Linked DNA regions of Homo sapiens: region 1 is linked to region 2. The links are contacts of gene promoters, found by promoter capture Hi-C in blood cells and fetal thymus (Javierre and others, 2016). All regions are on one chromosome and are shown on one strand. The core of a region is centred on a gene start or on the middle of the fragment in contact, and the rest is flanking DNA. Distances in the headings are between cores, read along the strand shown.

What was found. The method cuts DNA at HindIII sites, captures the fragments that hold promoters and counts their contacts. A CHiCAGO score of 5 or more calls a contact.
Region 1: a fragment that was not itself captured here is called in contact with the fragment with the promoter of TMEM238 in region 2 in 1 of 17 cell types (non-activated CD4 T cells); the score reaches 5.8 in non-activated CD4 T cells.

What each region holds. Positions count from the first base shown.
Region 1 is chr19:54,201,384-54,205,870 of GRCh38, reverse strand. RPS9 (ribosomal protein S9) reads right to left here. Exons shown (of 5, transcript NM_001013.4): 3 at 4,262-4,384. Among named protein-coding and RNA genes, the nearest start is that of RPS9, 2.8 kb to the right of the region's middle. RefSeq lists an enhancer at 1-45. The HindIII fragment of the contact is 2,211 bases long and covers 796-3,006 here.
Region 2 is chr19:55,381,025-55,385,541 of GRCh38, reverse strand. It overlaps TMEM238 (transmembrane protein 238), which reads left to right and starts at 1,250. Exons shown (of 2, transcript NM_001190764.2): 1 at 1,250-1,820. The coding sequence starts at 1,283. The coding sequence ends at 1,813. RefSeq lists enhancers at 565-634, 665-734, 688-1,650 and silencers at 1,025-1,364, 1,655-1,744. The HindIII fragment of the contact is 6,498 bases long and covers 1-4,517 here.

The sequences.
Region 1 (4,487 bases), core at 652-3,151, 1.2 Mb after region 2:
CACTCCAGCCTGGGCGACAGAGTGAGGCCCTGTCACAAAACAAAACAATACAAAAAACCAAACTACCCTATGGTTGTCAGGTCATCATTCATAGTAAACTGCAGATGACAGGAGGGCAAAATACACCTGCCTCCTCATCTGAGAGCATACATCCCTCGCTCCACATTCTTAGCAAGAGTAAAGGAAATCACCTCCTTACAAGGACTCAGTCTGCAAAAGACCAAATGCAGCTGCTATTAAGCTACTACCACCGTAACAAAGCACAGTGCTGAAGAGTTCATATCCTCAGCCCAGACAGCTCTTCTGATTAAGCAGATGTGAGATTGAATCACATTCCGTGCCATAAATAGCAGTATCTACATCTTTTAAGGAGAGAAAAGTAATTTCTAACACTAGAATTTTTCCAGCTAGGTACATGTCATTCATTTTACTATTCTGTACAAAATTTTCCACCAAAAATATATCTAGTATGTATATAACCTAACAATGCACTGCATAAAATATCCAACAGATGCCCTACTACACCTTTCTTCCAACCCCAGGCTCAGGACGGCTTGCTCCTTACCCTGTCCAAAGCCATGGCTTCTAGCTAATACTCTGGACTGCCCTTGCCCACAGCCCCAGGGCCCTGGGGGCAAACGCCATCCCCTAGGCTCCCGCTCACTGCTATAATCCCACACGCCTTCAGCAAATCAACTGCCCCTTGACTGGGGTAAACACCTCAACCTTTTTTCCTTATGTGCACTTTTATAAAAAGTGGCTCTTACTAGTTACAGCAAACCATTCAAGCAAGCTTTCATAAATAGATCTACATGCATCAGGCACTTCTGATATTCCTGGCACTGTTACCCTCCAAGCAAAGTTTGAAAGAAAGCTAGCTCACTTTGTGAGGACCCAAAGTTTTCCCAGTAGGGAGCAGTTACAGGTAGGGAGAATCAAAATGGAAACACCAGCTGTGTGCATTTCCAGCATCCTATGTCATACTATGGCTTCAATTTTTGTTCTTTTTTAACTCAACATCAGAGGATATTTAAACACCTGAATATCAAAATACAAAAACATGTCCAAAAGGCAATGAAAATGAGTTTGGGACCATTTACCTCTTTGGACACTTCACGCCTTTTTGTCTTTACATTAGAAAATGGAAACTTAAGCCACGCACAGTCCCTTATGCCTGGCCTATAAACCCAATATTTTGGGAGGCTGAGGCAGGAGGATCAGTTGAGTCCAGAAGTTTGAAACTAGCCTCGGCAACACAGTGAGACCGCATTTGTACCAAAACAAACAAAAAAGTAAAACTAAATTAGCCGGGCATGGTGGTACATGGTGGATTGTGGTCCCAGCTACTAGAGCTGAGGAGGATCACTTAAGCACAGGAGGTCCAGGCTGCAGTGAGCCACGACCATGCCACTGTGCTCCAGCCCGGGAGACAAAGTGAGATCGTCACCATTAGGCAAAACAAAGGCATGATTTTAAAAAAATGTTTCACATTTATTATCATTTTTGAGACAGAGTTTCGCTCTCGTTGCCCAGGCTGGAGTGCAATGGCGTGATCTCGGCTCACTGCAAACTCCGCCTCCTGGGATTCTCCTGCCTCAGCCTGGGATTAAAGGCATGCGCCACCACGCCCCGCTAATTTTGTATTTTTTCAGTAGAGACTAAGGGGTTTCTCCACTTTGGTCAGGCTAGTCTCAAACTCCCGACCTCGGGTGATCCGCCTGCCTCTGCCTCCCAAAGTGCTGGGATTACAGGCATGAGCCACTGCACTCAGGCCCACATTTATTGAACCATCTATCTCCTGAAAAAGAACAGGAGAGTCAGCCACAGGCAAAACCTTTAAGTATGAAGACAATAGTTTTCAACAGCACAATAAACCTTACACCTTCAACAAAAGCATGTCCTACTGCTGAGGCTCCACTGGGCCAATGCACCAAGAGAATTTAAAATGCTTTAAAAATGCAAACCAGGGAGGACCTCAGTGGGAAACAGGTCCTTGTCATCATACAAGGCAGTTAGGTATTACAATGCCTTCATTTCTGATCTGAAAAATGGACATGACTCCTACATTTCTTCACAGTTGTGCTGGGGGGTGGGGGGGGAGTTCGTGTTGTTTTGTGTCTCGCTGTCACCCAGTGCAGTGCCGCGGATCTCGGCTCACTGCAGTCTCTGTCTCCCAGGTTCAATCAATTCTCCTGCCTCAGCCTCCCGAGTAGCTGGGATTATAGGCACACCACCATGCTCGGCTAATTTTTGTATTTTTCGTAGAGATGGAATTTCACCACGTTGGCCAGGCTGGTCTCTGACTTGAGGTCTCCTGACCTCAAGTGATCCGACCACCTCGGTCTCCCAAAGTGCTGGGATTACAGGCATGAGCCACCACGCCTGGCCTCTATCTGTTGATTATTAACTGCCAGCCAAATGTTGGCGGCTGTTCAGTCTTAACAGACGAGACTCAGAATCTCGCTAGTCACACATCTTAGTGGGAAAGGCAGGATCTGAATCAAGGCAGGATTACACCAAAGAGCAAACATCCAAGCTCCTCCTTCCTGTCCCTGACTAGGCTAGATGGCTTCATTTACTAGAAAGTGTACTCACCTGAACAACTGTGTACCCCTTGGGAATTTTCACTTCTGCCTTGGAAAACCACAAATAACCCTCAGACACCTGCACCGCTTTCTCACATGACTGTAAGTTTCATTGCAATTAGGATCTATGTCCAGAAAGTCCTCCCTAAAACCAGAACCAGCTATAGCCCACTCCCCACAGAACCCTGGGATGAATTCCCACCCAGCATCAGTATCTATGGGGGAGGGATCTCCAGCACTTTCATGAGATTATCAACGGGGTCTACAAATTGACGAAAAGAATGAAAGGGTCAGGTGCGGTGGCTTACACCTGTAACCCCAGCACTTTGGAAAGCTGAGGTGGATGGATCACTTGAGGTTAGGAGTTGGAAACCATCCTGGTCAACACTGCAAGATCCTGTGCCTATTTAAAGAAAAAGCTTCTAACATCTGCAAGCCTGGGACAAACTGTGATAATCTGTAGCTAAACATGCGCCAGGACTTTCTCAACGCCTAACATGGATGACCACTCTCATGCCTAACAGTCAGGGCTCAGGTGTAGAGACTGCTTTTCACCATAAATCATGACTACCCAAACTCAGGCAAAAGCAGCGTCTCAGGATATACAAATGCCAATCTTGGTCATGCCAATCTGCTGTAGAAAGCACTCCAATAACACCGCATCTCAGAGTAGATTTTAAAACAAGATGGTTAAGATGGTACATTTTCAATTTAATGTGTATTTCACCACAATTAGTAAAGTAAGCCTAAGTCTATGTGATCTGCATGCCCTCCTAAAGTCATCACCTGAAATGCTGTTCCCTGAGACATTTTACAGGTTCTCTCCTGTTCAGGCCTTTGCTAAATACCACCTAAATGTCCTTGACCAGCTTAAAAAAACAAGCACCAGCCTGGACAACATGGTGAAAACCCATCTCCACTAATAATAGAAAATTAGCCAGGCTTGGTGGCCCATGCCTGTGATTCCAGCTACTTAGGAGGCTAAGACAGGAGAATCGCTTGAACTCTGGAGGCGGAGTTTGCAGTGAGCCAAGATTGCGACAACTACACTCCAGCATGGGCAATGGAGCGAGACTCCGTCTCAAAAGTAAAATTAGCCAGGTGTGGTGGCGTGCGCCTGTCTGTAGTCCCAGCTACTTGGGAGGCTAAGATAGGAGAATTGTTTGAACCCAGGAGGCGGGGGTTGCAGTAAGCCGAAATGGCGCCACGGCACTCCAGCCTGGGCAACAGAGCAAGACTCCGTCTCAAAAGACTAAATAAAACGAGAAAACTTAATTAAAAAAACAATAAACCAAGCAAATGTGCAAACCCTGTTATCACCATCACTTAGCCCAGAAATTCCACTTCATAGTCTACTCTCATCCACTAGCAAACAGGCCACATAAACAGAATATAAAGATATAGACGGGTGCCCAGGTGTGCCAGGCCTATCTTTAGCTCTGGTCATTACTAAACTGAAGGTCCAATAACTGGGCAAAAAAGCCACACACCTAAGAAACAGGGCAAAGACTGATCCAGATACACTTTTCCTACTCCACAAGTGCCACTAAAAGTTAGAAGGCTGGTTCCATTTATCCAATGACACAACTCTCATCACTGGAACAGAGGCAACAGAAGGGAGAATGAACCTCACAAGCCCTGCACCCCATCCCTCTGCTGTGGACTCCCATACGCACCTTCGAACAGACGCCGTGGGTCCTTCTCATCAAGCGTCAGCAGTTCCCGGGCGGCCTTGCGGATCTTGGCCAGGGTAAATTTGACCCTCCAGACCTCACGTTTGTTCCGGAGCCCATACTCGCCTGGTGGGGAGAAGGGGGTGGACAAGTGTAGTCCCACGTACTGGCACAACAACTAGACTGGCAGCTTTGGAATCACAAAACCTTCCTAAACCACGAATAGTAC
Region 2 (4,517 bases), core at 1-2,500:
TAGCCCCGGCACCTTTGGATATTTCCGGTCTTCGTAAGCCCTCGCGGTGATGGCCAATGAGGGCGCCGAGGCCCGCTCGGGTATTTTCGGAACCCTCCGGAAACGCTCTTGGGAGAGGTGTGTATGTTCGGAAATACTCCGTCTTCATTCGGAATCCCTCGGCTAATCCTGGCAGCCCTCTTGCAGTTCGCCCTCCCCAGGGTTTTCTTGAAATAAAACTCTTAAACTGTTTAAGCCTGGGGAGAACCTACACGGAAACTTCTCGCTGACTGCCACCCCAGGGGAGCGCGGATGCCCTCTAAGGGAGAATTGTTTGGAGGGAGGGAGATTTGCATGTGGCTTCTCTTGGCTCCCTTTAGGATTCTATAGATTTGCCGGTCCTCTTCCCTGCCCTCCACCTGTGCCTCCAGCCTATGGTGTGCCTGTCACACCCCATCAGCTCCCTGGGAGGTTATGATCCGTTGTCAGGGCCACCCTAAGGGGGCAGGAGCCTTGCCTGATATTTCTCTGTGTCCTCGGCCTCACCCACGCGGCATGGTGCTGGGGAGGCCTCAGAGACTCCTACTGAACAAAAGGAATGAGGGTGCCTGTGTCACCTCCCCAGGGCTCCTTAACTTGCGGTTACACCCGGGCACTCCTTGGGGCAGGGGCTTCGTCTGGTCCATAGGACTATCCTCCATAGGACAGTCGGGGTTCGCCCAGCTTCCTCCACGGGTGCGCTCTGGACCTGATGGGTCTCGTCCGTCCTTGTGCCCGTGGCTTCATTCGCTGAACACAGGAGACCCCAGAAGACACGCGCTGAGTGAAGGAAACTCAGCTTCCGCGGAACCCGGAGCTTCCCCTCTTAGATCACCCCGACTACTGGTTCTCGCGTCCCAGAGCTCCTTGGTGTCTAAAGGCCTTGTCTGATCTGCACTGTCTGATCTGCACAGGCTTCGGGAGGCGGACACTGAGCAGAAACAACGCCACGCCCGGCTCCGAGTGTCCCATGCTGCCACCACTAAAATGCCCTGATTTTTGGCCATATGTGACCTCCCTGGGTGGCACGGGCCCTAGGCACCCGTGGCTGTGCGCCTGGCTACCACCAGCTCAGGCCTCTGAGCAATAGCCCCTGCACGGAAACCACGACCAGGGTAACCCCGGCCGCGCCGGTTCGCGCCCAGCCCGGTTCAGGTGACCAGGCGGGAGCTTGGCACACCTGGCGCCGTCCCCTGACCCCGCCCCGGACCGGGCCGCACCCCGGAACGCTCTCTCTGGGCGCCAGCGGCGGCGGTGCAGGGCCATGGCGGCGGCGCCAGCGGTGTGCGCCTCGCAGGGGAGCCCGCCGGGTGCACCGTCCGCGCCGGCGGCCGCGCCAGCACCCGCGGCCGGCCTGGGCCGCTGCCGGATGGCGCTGCTGCTGGCCGTGGCGCTGGATGTGGCGGGCATGGCGGCGCTGCTGACCGGCGTGTTCGCGCAGCTGCAGGTGCGCGGCCGCGACTTCGGGGACCTGCTCATCTACTCGGGCGCGCTGCTGGTGTTCCTGAGCCTGCTGGGCTGGATCCTCTGGTACACCGGCAACATCGAGATCTCGCGCCAGGAGCTGGAGCGCGACTACGGCCTGCGGCCCTCGGCGCTCGCCCGCCTGGCGCGCAAGCTCTCCCGCCGCTGGTCGGCGCCCGCCGCCGCGGGCCAGCGCCCCGCGCCCGGCTCCCGGAGAGCGCGCCGAGCCGCCCGCGCGCCCCCGCCGCCCGCCGCCGGCTCCCGCCGCGTGCGCCTGCAGCTCGCCACGCTCGAGGCCGGGCCCGGGGCGGCGGGCGCGGGCAGCGAGTGAGGCCCAGGTGAGGGGCGGGCGGGGCAGGGCGGGGAGACGGAGGGACCGAGGGAGGGACGGGAATGGAGACAGACGGGGGAGCGATGGACAGATGGAGACAGAGAGCGGCCATGGGGAGGTAGAGTCCCAGGGCGGGGTGGAGACAGGGACGGGAAGGCTCTGGCGGAGAACCGCAGACACAGCAAGCACAGGTGCATACGTGGGGGAGGCTGTGAGACCCTGCCCCTGGAGATGGGAAGTGTGGGGGTCGAGTCACACAGTTAGGCCCCCCGCACGGGGAGAGCCCCAGCTTCCAGGTACACCAGGCCCCATTTTTTGTTTTGTTTTGTTTTGTTGTCGTTTGGGGTTGTTTTGAGACAGGATCTCTCACTGTCACCCAGGCTGGAGTGCAGTGGCGTGATCTCAGCTCACAGCAGCCTCGACCTCCTAGGCTCAAGCAGTCCTCCCACCTGAGCCTCCCAAGTAGCTGAGAATACATGTGCGCCCCACCTTGCCGGGCTAATTTTTGTATATTTAGTAGAGACGGGGTTTTGCCATGTGGGCCAGGTTGGTCCCCACCTCCTGAGCTCATGCGATTTGCTCTCCTCAGCCTCCCAAAGTGCTGGGATTACAGGCGTGAGCCACTGAGCCCAGACCAGGCCCCATTTAATCCTCTCCATGTAACTGGTCTCCAAGGTCACTACTATTACCATCCCCATTCTGCAGTGGAGGAAACTGAAGCGCAGAAAGGCGCCACATTTGCCCAAGGCCACACAACACGTAGGTGGAGGAGCTGGGATTCTCCTGACCTGTAGGCCTAGGAAAAGAGGAGCTGGGATTCTCCTGACCTGTAGGCCTAGGAAAGGAGGAGCTGGGATTTTCCTGACCTGTAGGCCTAGAAAAGGAGGAGTAAGAAGGACCAACAGCAGGAGAAATGAAGCCACCACACATTCACTCCCCTTTCCCCTCTACCTTCTATCTCTTTCCTAAACACACCTTTCCAGCTAGCCTGCCTCTGCTCAAAGACCTGCTGTGGCTCCCTCTTCACCTTTGGTTAAACTGAAGCACTCACTGGCCTGTGGACCCCCCATATTTTGGCCCCATTTCTCCTGCCTCTCTGCACTAATGGTGTCTCTTAGTCCACAGATAGCCAGTTGGTCCCTGTTCCTGCTCTTCTCTACACCAGGAGTGCCCTTGGCTGTCTCCACTCCACCCAGAAAACTTCTCACATGTTTAAGATTTAACTTAATTTCTCTGGGTCTTCTCTGGGTCTTCATATTGTCTGAGCGACCCCTCTTGCTGCTTATATGGCCATGTGCTGTGTCTATGTTGTTACTGTCTCTCCCACCTGACAGGGAGTGCCTTGAGGGTAAGACCTAGGTCCCTAGCGTCCTTGTTCCTAGCATTGCCCAGCAAAAAGTGTGAAATCAGGAAAGGTTGATGGTTGGGTAGGGAAGTGGAAGGATGGATGGAAGAACGGATGGCTGGATGGGTGGATGGGTAGATGGATGGGTGGATGGATGGATGAGTTGGTTGATGGATGCATGGGTGAATGGATGATAGATTGATAGATGGGTGGGTGGGTGGATGGGTAGATCGATGGGTGCGTGGATGGATGAGTTGTTTGATGGATGGATGGGTGAATGCATAGATGGGTGGGTGGTTGGATAGGTGGATGGGTAGATGGATGGGTGGATGGACGGGTGAATGGACAGATGGGTGGGTGGGTGGATGGGTGAATACATGGGTTGGTTGATGCAGGGATGTGGTTGGATTGACGGATGGATGGGTTGTTTAATGGGTAGATATGGGTAGGTGGTGAATTGGGCAATGAACCATGAATGGATATGGTTGGAGAGGGAGCCCTGCCTGATAAAGGGGCAAGAGCTTTTCCTGATACTTCTCTGTGTCCTCGGCCTCACCCATGCAGCATGGTACTGGGGAGGCCTCAGAGACTCCTACTGAACAAAAGAAATGAGGGTGCCTGTGTCACCTCCCCAGGGCACCTTAACTTGCGGTTACACCTGGGAACTCCTTGGGGCAGGGGCCTCGGCTGGTCCATAGGACTATCCATAGGACAGTCAGAGTTTGCCCAGCCTCTGTGCGCTCTCTGGATAGATAGGTAGATGGGTGAATGGGTAGTTGAATAGATGGTTGGGGCTGAATGATAAGTACACAGATGAGTGGATGAATGCATTTAATGGCACATGGATGGTTGGGTGACTGAATTCATCTCTCAAATAGGGTTTTGGTAAAAGAATTAAACCCTATTATCCTAGGACGTTCTATGTAGGTAAATAATTAACTTTTTTTTTTTTTTTTTTTTTTTTTGAGATGGAGTTACACTCTTGTTGTCCAGGCTGGAGTGCAGTGGCGCAATCTCGGCTCACTGCAACCTCTGCCTCCCGCGTTCAAGCAATTCTCTTGCCTCAGCTTCCCGAGTAGCTGGGATTACAGGCATGCACCCCCACACCTGGCTAATTTTGTATTTTTAGTAGAGACGGGGTTTCTCCATGTTGGTCAGGCTGGTCTCAAACTCCCGATCTCGGGTGATCCGCCCACCTCGGCCACCCAAAGTGCTGGGATTACAGGCGTGAACCACCGTGCCCGGCTGGAATTAACTTTTCTCCTATGCATCCAGAATGCTACCAGTTATATATTATTCTTTGTGAGATTTGGGGAAATAGTCACCCCAATCATATGCTACGTGCCGTGATTCAGTGAA